Linked DNA regions of Homo sapiens: region 2 is linked to region 1. Evidence: promoter capture Hi-C in 16 types of primary human blood cells and fetal thymus (Javierre and others, 2016). All regions are on one chromosome and are shown on one strand. Each heading gives the region's core, a stretch centred on a gene start or on the middle of the fragment in contact. The rest is flanking DNA. Distances are from core to core; before and after follow the strand shown.

Region 1 (6,289 bases), core at 1,136-3,635:
CTGGGACAATTTCAAACTGTGGCTTCTGTATTAGATATCACAATGGCATTTTTATAGACATCTGCATTTAAAATTAAGTGATACTGCCAAAATAATAGCTTGCATCTGAAATCAAAAGGAATAGAAATGTAATCAAGCTTTATTATTAGATATAATCTTAGTGGGAACAACCCAAAACCAACTATTAAAAAGAAGGTAGAAAGCATTACCAGTTGACAAATCTGTGGCTTTGCTTCCTTTCTGGAAACCCTAAAAAGAAACAGGCAATGTTACATTCTAACTACTAGTATGTAGAAATTAGGAAAAGGTCAAATGAGATGTTAAATGAAAAAGGCAGAATATAACATTATAAATACATTTTAGATATAGTCATGCAAAAATTACACATGCACTTGGGCAGGGCTGGCAAGAATATGGTTAATAACTGACAAATGAAAAGTTTAAGGAGGTCACATGACAAACCCTAGAGTCACACAAGGCTCTCATCCAAAAGAAGGATACAACTTGGCTAAATAAAAGATTTCGGGGTTCATGTTTTTCTAGCAAATTTCTTAATTAGAATGTCCCTCTAAGCTGGGAGCGGTGGCTCATATCTGGAATCCCAGCACTTTAGGAGGCCAAGGTGGGAGAATCACTTGAGCCCAGGAGTTTGAGACCAACCTGGGTAACATACGGAGACCCTGTCTCTACAAAAAAATAAGAAAAATTAGCCCGGAGTTGTGTTGTGCACCTGTAGTCTCGGCTACTGGGAAGGCTGAGGCAGGAGGACCGCTTGAGCCCAGGAGGTGGTGGCTGCAGTGAGCCAGGATTGCAGCACTGGATTCCAACCTGGGCAACGAAGTGAGACCCTGCCTCAAAAAAAAGAAAAAAGAAAAGAAAAGAAAAAAAGAATGTCCCTAACTGATGACAAAGCAGCCCAAAGTAGTGGGATGAGCATTGAGATCATAACTGCACCTAGACATTTCTAGAGAAACCACAACTACTAATACACTTAGTTCCTTATCGTAATTGCAAAGATCAATGATGTCCCAACAAATTCTTTAAAAACACACACAACATATGATGTGACTATAACTAACAATTTATTGTATATTTTCAAATGGCTAGAAGAGCGGATTTTCAATGTTCCCAACGCAAAGAATTGATGTTTGAGATGATGAATATGCTAATTACCCGGATTTGATCATTACACATTGGGTACATGTATTGTTATCAAAATATCACACTGTATCCCACAAATATGTACAATCATTTTATGTAAGTTAAAAATAATTATAAAAACAGGCCAAGCGCGGTGGTTCACGCCTGTAATTCCAGCACTTTGGGAGGCCAAGGCGGGCAGATCACCCGAGGTCAGTAGTTCGAGACCACCCTAGCTAACATGGTGAAACCCCGTCTCAACTAAAAATACAAAAAATTGATCGGGTGTGATGGCGGGCGCCTGTAATCCCAGCTACACGGGAAGCTGAGGCAGGAGAATCGCTTAAGCCCGGGAGACGGAGGTTGCAGTGAGCTGAGATCGCGCCACTGCACTCCAGCCTGGGCGACAAAGCGAGACTCTGTCTTAAAAAAAAAAAATTATATATATACATATATATATGTGTGTCTACAAAAAATTCCTAGATCTCTGACCACACAAAAATCCGCCCCCATAGCTGGGCGCGGTGGCTCACGCCTGTAATCCCAGCACTTTGGGAGGCCGAGGTGGGTGGATCACCTGAGGTCAGGAGTTCAAGACCAGCCTGGCCAACATGGTGAAACCCCATCTCTACTAAAAATACAAAAAATCAGCCGGGCTTGGTGGCGGGCGCCTGTAATCCCAGCTACACGGGAGGCTGAGGCAGGAGCATCGCTTGAACCCGGGAGGAGACAGAGGTTGCAGTGAGCCAAGATCGCGCCATTGCACTCCAGCCTGGGCGACAGAGCGAAACACCGTCTTAAAAAAAAAAAAAAAATCCTCCCCCACACAACGGGCGTGCCTCTTAGCAGGAAATTACAGGCTCAACAAAAAGGCCCGTGAAGCACTCCATCTCCCGGCGGGATGGCGCCAGAATCTCCCCGGCCGAGCACAGCGGGAGCCAGGGAATAGTGGGAAAAGGCCGGAGCAGCACTATCTGGGAGACCAGAGGACCAAACTCGAGGATACATCTCTGGCGACTGGGGAGCCCTGCCACGCCCCTTCAGACCTGTCATAGAAGGGATGCTCCTCGCCGAAATCTCGAAGATGTTTCTTCTGCTTTTTAGTTAGGGTGTTGAGTAGCTGGCTCTGGCTCCGGCTCCCGCGTTTGCCCATAGCGAAAACGTCAAGTTTGCCCACTTGCAAGAGTCGCGGTTTTCCACCAGGAAGTTGTCCAGTCAACACAAGCACGTGGGCTCGCTGACTGCGCTTTACGGCGAAAGCAAGGTGCCATAAAGCAGATCCGCTTTACGTCGCGCTCGTACGACAGGCTTAGAACATCCGGTTCCCGGTTCTGCCCCCTACCGCAGCTCTTTGAAAGCACGGGAGTTCGTTCACTAGTGTTCTCAGAGCCCTAGAACGTGGGCAGCTGGGCTTCCCGGGTTGCGTGAGTCGGGGGCATGAGCTTTGTGCTTGTGTTTTGGTTATGGAAATCAGTCTGCGTAAATGTGTAGTAGCGGAGATAGTCGAATGCAGTGACTTTACAGTATACTGCAATAAAAATATCAACCAACATTTAAGGGTGCCTGAACATCTCACTTCATCACCACAACAGTGTACAGATAGGTCTTGTTAATAAGCCTGGTGTTGCAGATAAGGAAACTGATGCTTAGAAAAGATAACACGCTAGCGGCCGGGCGCGGTGGCTCACGCCTGTAATCTCAACACTTTGGGAGGCCGAGATGGGCGGATCACCTGAGGTCAGGAGTTCGAGACCAGCATGGCCAAACATGGTGAAACCCCGTCTCTACTAAAAGTACAAAAATCAGCCGGGCGTGGTAGCGGGCGCCTGTAATCCCAGCTACTCAGGAGGTGAGGCAGGAGAATCGCTGGAACCCGGGAGGTGGAGGTTGCAATGAGCCGAGATCACTCCACTGCACTCCAGCCTACTCCAGCCTGGGCGACAAAAGCTAGACTCCATCTCGAAAAAAAAAAAAAAGAAGAAAAGAAAAGAAAAGATAACACGCTAGCAAGAGAAGAGAGAAAAACCTTAACTGATGCAACCACATGCTTTTACCCATTAGGGTCTGCCGCCTGTGTGTGTTATATCAATCATGGGGCCCACAAGTCTGAGATTCCCACCCTCACCCTATTCTCGCATTTTCTGAAAGTATTGGAAGAGTCCCCGCAAACAAATCTGTTCCAGCATTCCCCATTTAACAACAGCAGAAACACATCTAGAGAGGTAAAGTGACTTTACTGAAATCACCCCAGTCAATGCTAGAAAAGGCTGTGAAACCCAATCCAGTGTCTCATAACTGAACTCGGACAAAAGGGGATGGAAAAGCTTTTGAAGGTAAAGGAACCATCTTACATTTTGATCATGCTAGTAGTTACACCTTGTATACATAAGAAAAGTTAAACTGTACAGTTAAAATGGGTGAATTTTAATGTATTTAAATAACACCTAAATAAACAGGAAAAAGCAAAAATATAAAAGTAGACTCAGTATTCTAGGGATTTGCAAGTGTGCAGGGCTGCTTGAGACCACAGGATAAAGATGGTGAGATCCTTTTCCTAATAGTAACTTATGCTACCATGTTCTATAGAAACAGAGTGCTTAAATCATAAGCCGCAGAATTCACTTGAATATTTACGGTAAAACAGGAGCGTCCAAAATGAGAGAAATGAGAAGCAAAATAATAGCTCTGCTATTGGAGTGCTACTGTGGGAAATTTGGGTTTTCCCTGATACTGTGTCACACCATAGAAGTTGTAATAAAACCATTAGAATGCGATTCTTGTCAGTTCTAGTGACCATCTACTATTCCTAATTAGATTCGGAGAGGCTGGGGTGGGGATGGGAGGACAGGGCCGGAGAATATGAGGAACACATGCAAACAGAGCGGGTGGTGCCCAGCAGCTGGGCCAGCCAAGGAACCCATAAATAGCCATTTGTCTTCTATGTAATTTCAAGATAAAAGGTACAGTCACTTAGGTCAACAAAAGCCTGTTTGCAAGATGTCATCATATATTTTAAGGTGCTGACCACAGTATAACTTGGCTATAGCAATAAAGAGCCATCCTTTTTCCCCCTCCCAACATATCCCAAGTGCCCCAGTTTCCCTCCCCAGAGGCAGCCACTTTCTTGGTGTTCTTCCAGAGATCTTCTATGAAAGCTATATTCTCAAGCACTTGAGGTGACTCTTACTCTCCCGGTTTCCACACCCTTGTGGTCTTGTGTACAGGTCTAGACGGTTCTCAGGTTCAGGTAAAAATTTACCCTAGCCCCACCCAAGCAGTCTCATCATTGGCTCACTGGGTCATGGAAAAAGAAGCCCTTTTTGTCCTAAAAATATTTATATTATCCTTTGACAACATAAAAAGGGATCCTTTGTGAAAATTTAACCTAAGAGCCAAGAATGTAAGCATTTCTCCCCGCCCCGCCCCCCCGTGAAAGTTCTCTTAGTAAAACCTGCACAACGATGATGTATATGCCAACAAATGAAGGCCTTAGGAAAACTGTAATGAAGACAAAATTTGTTCTTCTTTTTCCCTCCCTCTGCCCTTCCGTTTCCCTCCCCCAACGTTTTCTTTTACTTCTACTCACAGGAACTCCATATTTTCAGTGTTAAAGGCAGTCCAGGAAATAACCCTCTGTATTAGTTTACAGATAGCTGTTAATGAATTAACAAGTTACTTTCCTTGGGATATTTGCAATTTCCAGAAGATTCTCTAGGATAATGATCTCAAGGAGTGGGAGAAGGATAGCTATCCCTTAGGACAAGAATATCAGAATGTTTCGGAATCAGTTAATAATTTAAAAGAAAAAAATGTTTTATATGGCACATTTTAAGTGTATACAAAAGTAGACAAAATGGGAGAATGAACTCCCATATACCTATTGCCCAGCTTCAGCAACTGTCAACTCAAGGCCATCTTGTCTCATTTATATGCCCAACCACTGCCCTGTCCCTACTCTGCATTATTTTTGAAGCAAATCCCAAACATCATATTATTTCATCTGTAAATATTTTAGTGTGCATTTCTAAAAGTTAAGGGTTTTTTTAATGTAGCCTCAATGGCATTATCCAACCTAAAAAACACTGAAGTTAACTGTTTAATATAATCATATATACTGCCAGTGTTCACATTTTTGATTGTCTCATAAATGTTGTCTTTTAAAAATACTTTGTTGGTTTAACATGTTATGCTCTTCTCTATATTTCTTATGAATTGATTGTTGGATCTAGAAGTTTGATCACACTTTGTTATACTTGGTATTTTGTACTTCCATCAGAAGGCATATGATGTCTGGTTGCCTTTCTTTCTGTGATGTTACCAGACATTGATGCTCAATGTCTAAATTCATTAATTCATGAATACATTATAATTCTATTTCAGGGAGTGATACTCTGATTCTGTCATTTATTCTTTACTTAGTTGCTGAATTCTTGTTGTGAAGACAAATTTCTACCTTAATTAAATTTTGGTTACCCAGTGGTACAGTTTATATAGGAAAGAATAAATGCTTGATTCTTTCCCTTCATTTGCCAATTTTCAAGGTAAGAAGTTGATCACTAGATTTAATGGTGGCCAATTAAGTTTTGGTTTTTATTTTTAGTATCATTATGAATTCATGGAGTTCTACAAATTGATATATTCTAATTGTAAATATCATGATATATATAATTTGAAAGTACTTACTTGACATATAGCTATAAATATTTAAAGACACAAGTCAGTCACTTTATAATGCAAAATACAGAAAGTAAGCAGAGGGTCTATCTGAGATTCTCAACAGAGCTAGGGGGAACACTGCTTGAGGATACATCTCAGATGCTGGGGATGTTTGAGATTTATTTTTTTTTTGATAACAAGGTCACATAGTTTCAAGATATGTTGAGAGGAAGCCATGTATATCCAAAGGTATGACTCTCTAATGGTGAAAGTCAGACACCTCAGCTTCTGATTTGGGAAGATTCTAGGGAAGGATTTTGTGTGTGTGTGTGTGTGTGTGTGTGTGTGCTTTCCTAGTAGCCTTAAAGTAGACAGTTTCCTACATACAAGACCAGCTCTTCTACAACATGTATACACGCATGTCTGTGTACAGACCCAAAGCAATCCAGCCTCTTCCCGAGACTGCTGGCAGAAATCACTCTCTCACTACCTT
Region 2 (6,289 bases), core at 1,117-3,616, 3.2 Mb before region 1:
CTAAAAACCTGATCAGGCCTATTGCTTACTTTCTTTGATTCATCTGTCTTCTCTGCTGTGATCACCTTGTTCCTCCTGATATGGAAGGTATATAAGCTTTTGTAGTGTGAATTTATGTTGTGAAGCATATGAAGGCCAGAGACTATCCACTCTTATCAGTGGTTTTCAAATTGTCTTCCATGGAACCCTCATATTTGAACACATTTCTGTAAGTTTATTAAAAGCAAATGTGGTCAGTATAAAATATGTGTTCACCCCATCATCCCAGCCCCAGTCCCAGCATGCCAGGGATTGGTGTTCCATGGCATGAAAAGTAACACAGAAGGGTTCTACAAGTTGTAGAAGTTTGAAAGCCACTGTAGTAACCAGATAAACTAATGGTCCTGGTTGTTTAAAAAATGGAATTGCAAAAAGAGTTGTTTATAAACTTTAATGACCAGGACAATAAAAATCTTAATGCATTTATATGCCATTACATGTACATGTTTTATAAGGAAATATGAATAAGGTTTTTAGACCTTAATTTTCATATTTTAATATGGCAGTGAAACCAGGGTAGTGCTCCATCTGTGATGATAGCTTATATATTGTTTGCATGACTGGAACCCTTTCCATCTTGTATACATAAGAAGACTTTGATTTGGCTAAAACCATCATAGACAGTCTCCAGTTTATGAATGAATTGTGTTCTACACATGATCAGTTCTTTTTTTTTTTTTTTTTGAGACGAAGGCTCACTCTGTTGCCCAGGCTGGAGTGCAATGGCGCAATCTCAGCTTACTGCAAGCTCCACCTCCCAGGTTCACGCCATTCTCCTGTCTCAGCCTCCCGAGTAGCTGGGACTGCAGGTGCCCGCCACCACGCCCGGCTAAATTTTTGTATTTTTTAGTAGAGACGGGGTTTCACGGTGTTAGCCAGGATGGTCTTGGTCTCCTGACCTTGTGATCCACCCGCCTTGGCCTCCCAAAGTGCTGGGATTACAGGTGTGAGCCACCACGCCCGGCCAATCAGTTCTGTTTTCCCTATAGAAATTTTGTTATAAATCTGAATGGCTCTGCAGAGCCAGTACAATTGGCCTTAGTTCTGAGCCATTGGGGGTAGGATTCCTATCTTCAGTGAATGATAGGGAAGAGGATAGTTTCCTTTCCTGGGCATAGGATAGGCTCTAGGCAAAATTCTTCATAGTTGAAGACTTTTGTTTAGTTTGGTTTTGTTTCTTTCCATCTTTTTTTTTTTTTTTTTTGAGTTGGAGTCTCACTCTTGTTGCCCAGGCTGGAGTGCAATGGCGCGATCTCGGCTCACTGCAACCTCTGCTTCCCGGGTTACAGCGATTCTCTGGCTTCAGCCTCCTGAGTAGCTGGGATTACAGGTGCATGCCACCACACCCGACTAATTTTTGTATTTTTAGTAGAGACAGGGTTTCGCCATGTTGGCCAGGCTGGTCTCGAACTCCTGACCTCAGGTGATCCACCCGCCTCAGCCTCCCAAAGTGCTGGGATTACAGGCATGAGGCACTGTGCCTGGCCTAATCATACTTTAAAATGATTACTTCATTGGCATTTTTAAATAGCATATTGATATTTTGATTGTAAATGTATTGTGCAGAAGATTTGCAAAAATATTTCACAGTCCTAACACTCAGAGATAACTACTCTTAAAAATATGGGTGTGTTTCCTTTTAGTCTTTATTTCACCCTCTATATAAGTGTATAGGATATTTTAACTTCAATTTAATTTTTGATTGGTGGAATTCCAGGCATTGTATTCCAGTGAAGTGAAAACCTTTGCAGGATAGAGGGAGATATTCTAGGGGCTGAAATTTTTTATATAATTTAATCATACTTAGAAGTCCATTTCCAAATCTGTTTTCCCATGTTCTTCCCATTTTTTTGTTTTCTCTTTTGAACTCATAAATTCTCCAAAAATTCCGTGTTTCTCTTCATGGTTTCCATGGCAGTAAGAGCATGCTCTTTAATGATAGGATGTAGGAGACAAGATCAAAGGTGAATACACACACACACATCACACACACGGTTATTTCTAAGTCAGGGACTGCCTATGATTGCAAAGTCTTGTGTTTTTTTATTCTTTTCATCACTTTTGCAGAATGCATGATGTGTTTGCAGAATATGAACACACGCCTGGTTGTTGCATGCTAGGTTTGTTGGTTAGCCATCATTTACTAGCATTCTGTAGCTATGTCATATTTAACTTTTCCTTTGTTGTACATTTAAAAGATTTCTTTTGTTATTTTGTTTGCATGTTCCACTTCAGTGTTTTAAACACTAAAACTTCTTCCATATATTGCCATTATATACACTTCTTTCATGTATAAACTAGAATTCTGAACTAAGGGTTGCTTCTGGAACTTGGTTAATCATTTGACGATCTTATCCCACTAATAGGGAATAAAATACAGTGTAAAATCATCTTATTGAAAAGCCAACTTTGACATACAAATTTGTTGTTATAGTTATAAAACTGCCAATCACATCTGTGGCAGAGCCACTTCTTAACTGTAGAGAAGTGAGAAACCACAACCTCTGTATAGTCTTAGCTTTGTTAACACATACTCTCAGCCTCCAGAATGACTTGCAAGATTCTTTTAAACCTGTTTTAAACCTGTTGGTCAGTATATTGTGTTACCGCATTTGTAACCAATTTGATAACAGTTCTAATTATTCAGTGCTATATTGCCACTTCCTAGGGAAAAACATTCTATTCATTGCTTATGGGAATTTTTAAGAGGCTGAAAAATACATATATGTGGGAAACTGTATGGTCTGCTTTTGATTAATTCCTTATATTTGTGCAATATATTTTAACAGGTGTGATAAAGCGGAATTGGGAATATATATGTAGCCATGATAAAGAAAAAACGAAGATCCTAGGAGACAAAAATGTTGATCCCAAATGTGAAGACAGTGAGAACAAGTTTGACTTTTCAGTGATGTCCTATAATATACTTTCACAAGATTTACTGGAAGATAACTCTCACCTTTATAGACATTGCCGGCGGCCAGTATTACACTGGAGTTTTAGGTTTCCCAATATTCTGAAAGAAATTAAACATTTTGATGCAGACGTAAGTGCAAAATATTATTGAAATTCTTCACATAAGAAAAAGTTGGGGCCGGGCACACTGGCTCATGCTTGTAATCCCAGCACTTTGGGAGGCTGAGGCAGGTGGATCACCTGAGGTCGGTAGTTTGAGACCAGCCTGACCAACATGGAGAAACCCCGTCTCTACTAAAACATACAAAATTAGCCGGGCGTGGTGGCTCATGCCTGTAATCCCAGCTACTCAGGAGGCTGAGGCAGGAGAATCACTTGAACCTGGGAGGTCGATGTTGCAGTGAGCTGAGATTGCACCATTGCAATCCAGCCTGGGCAACAAGAGCAAAACTCTGCCTCAAAAAAAAAAAAAAAGAAAGAAAGAAAAAGTTGGGTTAAATGTTTCATTTGTGCATTTATGAACTAAATGGTTTTATCCATTTTGTTTGTGGGGTAAGAAAGGAATATGTTTAAGAATAATGATGGAATAAGTCTTAATAAGGTATAACTTTCAGAGAGGCATTTGTTAGTGGTTGCTGGTATGAATAATCATCTAACTTTTCAAAGAGGGTCCAAAAAGTTTTTAAGTATGGGTCAGTTTTGAGACAGAAACTGGCAACATATTAAGTATTCAGTAAATATTAACTTTGATTTGAAATTTCAGTAATTCATGCAAAAATGTCACCTACCTGATAGCATTCAAAGAAATCTGCCTCTTAAGACCTGAAAGATAGTACCAATGAACATGTAAAACCCGGAAAAATATCCTGACATGTAAGCTAAGAATATTTCCTTTTGGAAATAATAATTTTGAGTACTAAGGGAGCTCCATGTGATTGAGGGCCAGAGTTTTGAGATTGATCAAAATTCGGAAACATTAATTTGGTAGATCTATAACAAGAAAAACAGGTAAGTCTTTTATTTCAATTCTTATCAGGTGTGGAATTTTAGAAGCCTGCTTTTAGATATTTTAAGATAAAAGCACCAGGAAATTCATGATTGCATCTCTGTGTTCTAATTCAAGCTATTTTTTTCTTCCAAGGTACTTTGTTTGCAAGAAGTTCAAGAAGATCATTATGGAGCAGAGATCAGGCCAAGTTTGGAATCACTGGGTACAATGCAACTTTTTTTTTTTTTTTTTCTTTTTTGAGACAGGGTCTCACTCTGTCGCCCAACTGGAGTGCAGTGGCACAATCATGGCTCACTACAGCCTCAACCTACTGGGCTCAAGTAATCCTCTCATTTCGGCTTCCTGAGTAGCTGGGACTAGAGATGTGTGCCACCATGCCCGGCCAATTATTTAATTTTTTTTATAGAGACAAGGCAATGTAACTTTTAGCCAAATTTACTTTTGAAAATTCATGTGTCATTAAAGTATAACTTGCTGACAAAGATGTGTGGCATATTTTGGCTAAAAATCTTAATTTTAAAAACTTAATTTCAAAGAGGAAAAGATTGAGGTACTCACTGGAAACTTTTGTGTTGGTGTATAATTTTAATTCAAACAGAAAGATGTGTAAGAATATCTTAGTAGCTCCCTTTCCTAGGAGTTGTTCTGTCCACCTGTAGACCTATAAGCTTCTGAGCTCCAGGAGACCATTTTGTCTCGTTCATCATTATAATACCAGTGCCTGCCAGTGTCTACCTAATGGATAGATGCCAAAAACCTGTTTGATAAATAAACACTCCTAGAAACAAGTTATCTGTGGTCCCATATACTTGAGAAGTGTGCTTACTTTGCATTCATTCATTCAGCAATTTTTTTTTTTTTTTTTTTTTGCGACAGAGTCTCTCTCTTGCCCAGGCTGGAGTGTAGTGGTGCAATCTCGGCTCACTGCAAGCTCCACCTCCCAGGTTCACGCCATTCTCCTGCCTCAGGCTCCCTAGTAGCTGGGACTACAGGCGTCCGTCACTATGCCCAGCTAATTTTTTGAATTTTTTTTAGTAGAGACGGGGTTTCACCGTATTAGCCAGGATGGCCTTGATCTCCTGACCTCGTGATCCGCCTGCCTTGGCCTCCCAAAGTGCTGGGATTATAGGCGTGAGCCACCACGCCTGGCCTTCATTAGCAATTTTTTTTTGAGTGCCTACTATATACCGTGCACTGTTCTAGGGAATGAGGATATAGCATTGGGCAAAAAAGATTAAAAAAATTTCTCCCTTGTGTGGAGTGTACCTTCTGGTGGAGAAAGGCTAACCAAATAAATAAGTAAATAGCATATTAAGTAATGATAGTTTTCTGGAGAAAAGCAGGAAAGTGGAATAGGAGAGGTTTCAGTTTTAAACAAAATGATCAGACGAGGTGACATTTGAACAAATATTTGAAGGAGGTGAAGGAATAAGCGATGCCTAGAACATTCTAGGCAACAGAAATAGCAAGGGAAAGGCCCTGAGGTTGGAGTGTGTTAAGGCAAGTGAGGAGGCCAGTGAGATTGGAATGAAGTGAGGGGGAAGGAGTTACAGGCAAAAAGATCAGGAATATAGGGTGGAGAGAGTGAGAGAATAGATTATTATAAAGCTTTACTATTGCCATGACTAAGTTTTACTAGGATGGCAACGGGAGACTGATAATACACATTAGCATATCAAGGGCTGAAGTCTGCGCATAAAGAGGCCTGTTAGACCCAGTGTCAAACGTTTTTTATTCCAATGTTTATTGACATCCTACATTACTAATGTTTTGCAGAATACAGTTTGGTAAACATTGTTCAGAAGTATCAGGTGAGCTGTGTTTTGATAAATATATAAAAGCAGTCATTTGTTTTAAATTCATTTGTTTCTTGTAGGTTATCACTGTGAATATAAGATGCGGACAGGAAGGAAACCTGATGGCTGTGCTATTTGCTTCAAACATTCCAAATTTTCACTCTTGTCAGTGAACCCAGTGGAATTCTTCCGCCCTGATATTTCTCTGTTGGACAGAGACAATGTTGGATTAGTTTTACTCTTACAGCCCAAAATTCCATATGCTGCCTGCCCTGCAATCTGCGTAGCAAATACGCATCTGTTGTATAATCCAAGGCGAGGTGATATTAAGCTGACGCAATTGGCAATGCTACTGGCAGAGATTTCCAGTGTTGCCCACCAGAAAGATGGCAGCTTCTGCCCTATTGTTATGTGTGGTGACTTTAATTCTGTTCCTGGTTCTCCACTATATAGTTTCATAAAGGAAGGAAAATTGAATTATGAAGGACTTCCCATAGGAAAGGTAAGTGCTTTCTTCATTGTTATTAGG

The links. The method cuts DNA at HindIII sites, captures the fragments that hold promoters and counts their contacts. A CHiCAGO score of 5 or more calls a contact.
Region 2: a fragment that was not itself captured here is called in contact with the fragment with the promoter of UTP25 in region 1 in 1 of 17 cell types (activated CD4 T cells); the score reaches 7.5 in activated CD4 T cells.

The regions. Positions count from the first base shown.
Region 1 is chr1:209,824,068-209,830,356 of GRCh38, reverse strand. It overlaps UTP25 (UTP25 small subunit processome component), which reads right to left and starts at 2,385. Exons shown (of 12, transcript NM_014388.7): 1 at 2,187-2,385; 2 at 210-249. The coding sequence starts at 2,293. RefSeq lists an enhancer at 2,296-2,345. The HindIII fragment of the contact is 3,327 bases long and covers 140-3,466 here.
Region 2 is chr1:213,005,006-213,011,294 of GRCh38, reverse strand. ANGEL2 (angel homolog 2) reads left to right here. Exons shown (of 9, transcript NM_144567.5): 3 at 2,829-3,085; 4 at 4,097-4,166; 5 at 5,841-6,262. Among named protein-coding and RNA genes, the nearest start is that of ANGEL2, 7.7 kb to the left of the region's middle. The HindIII fragment of the contact is 4,536 bases long and covers 99-4,634 here.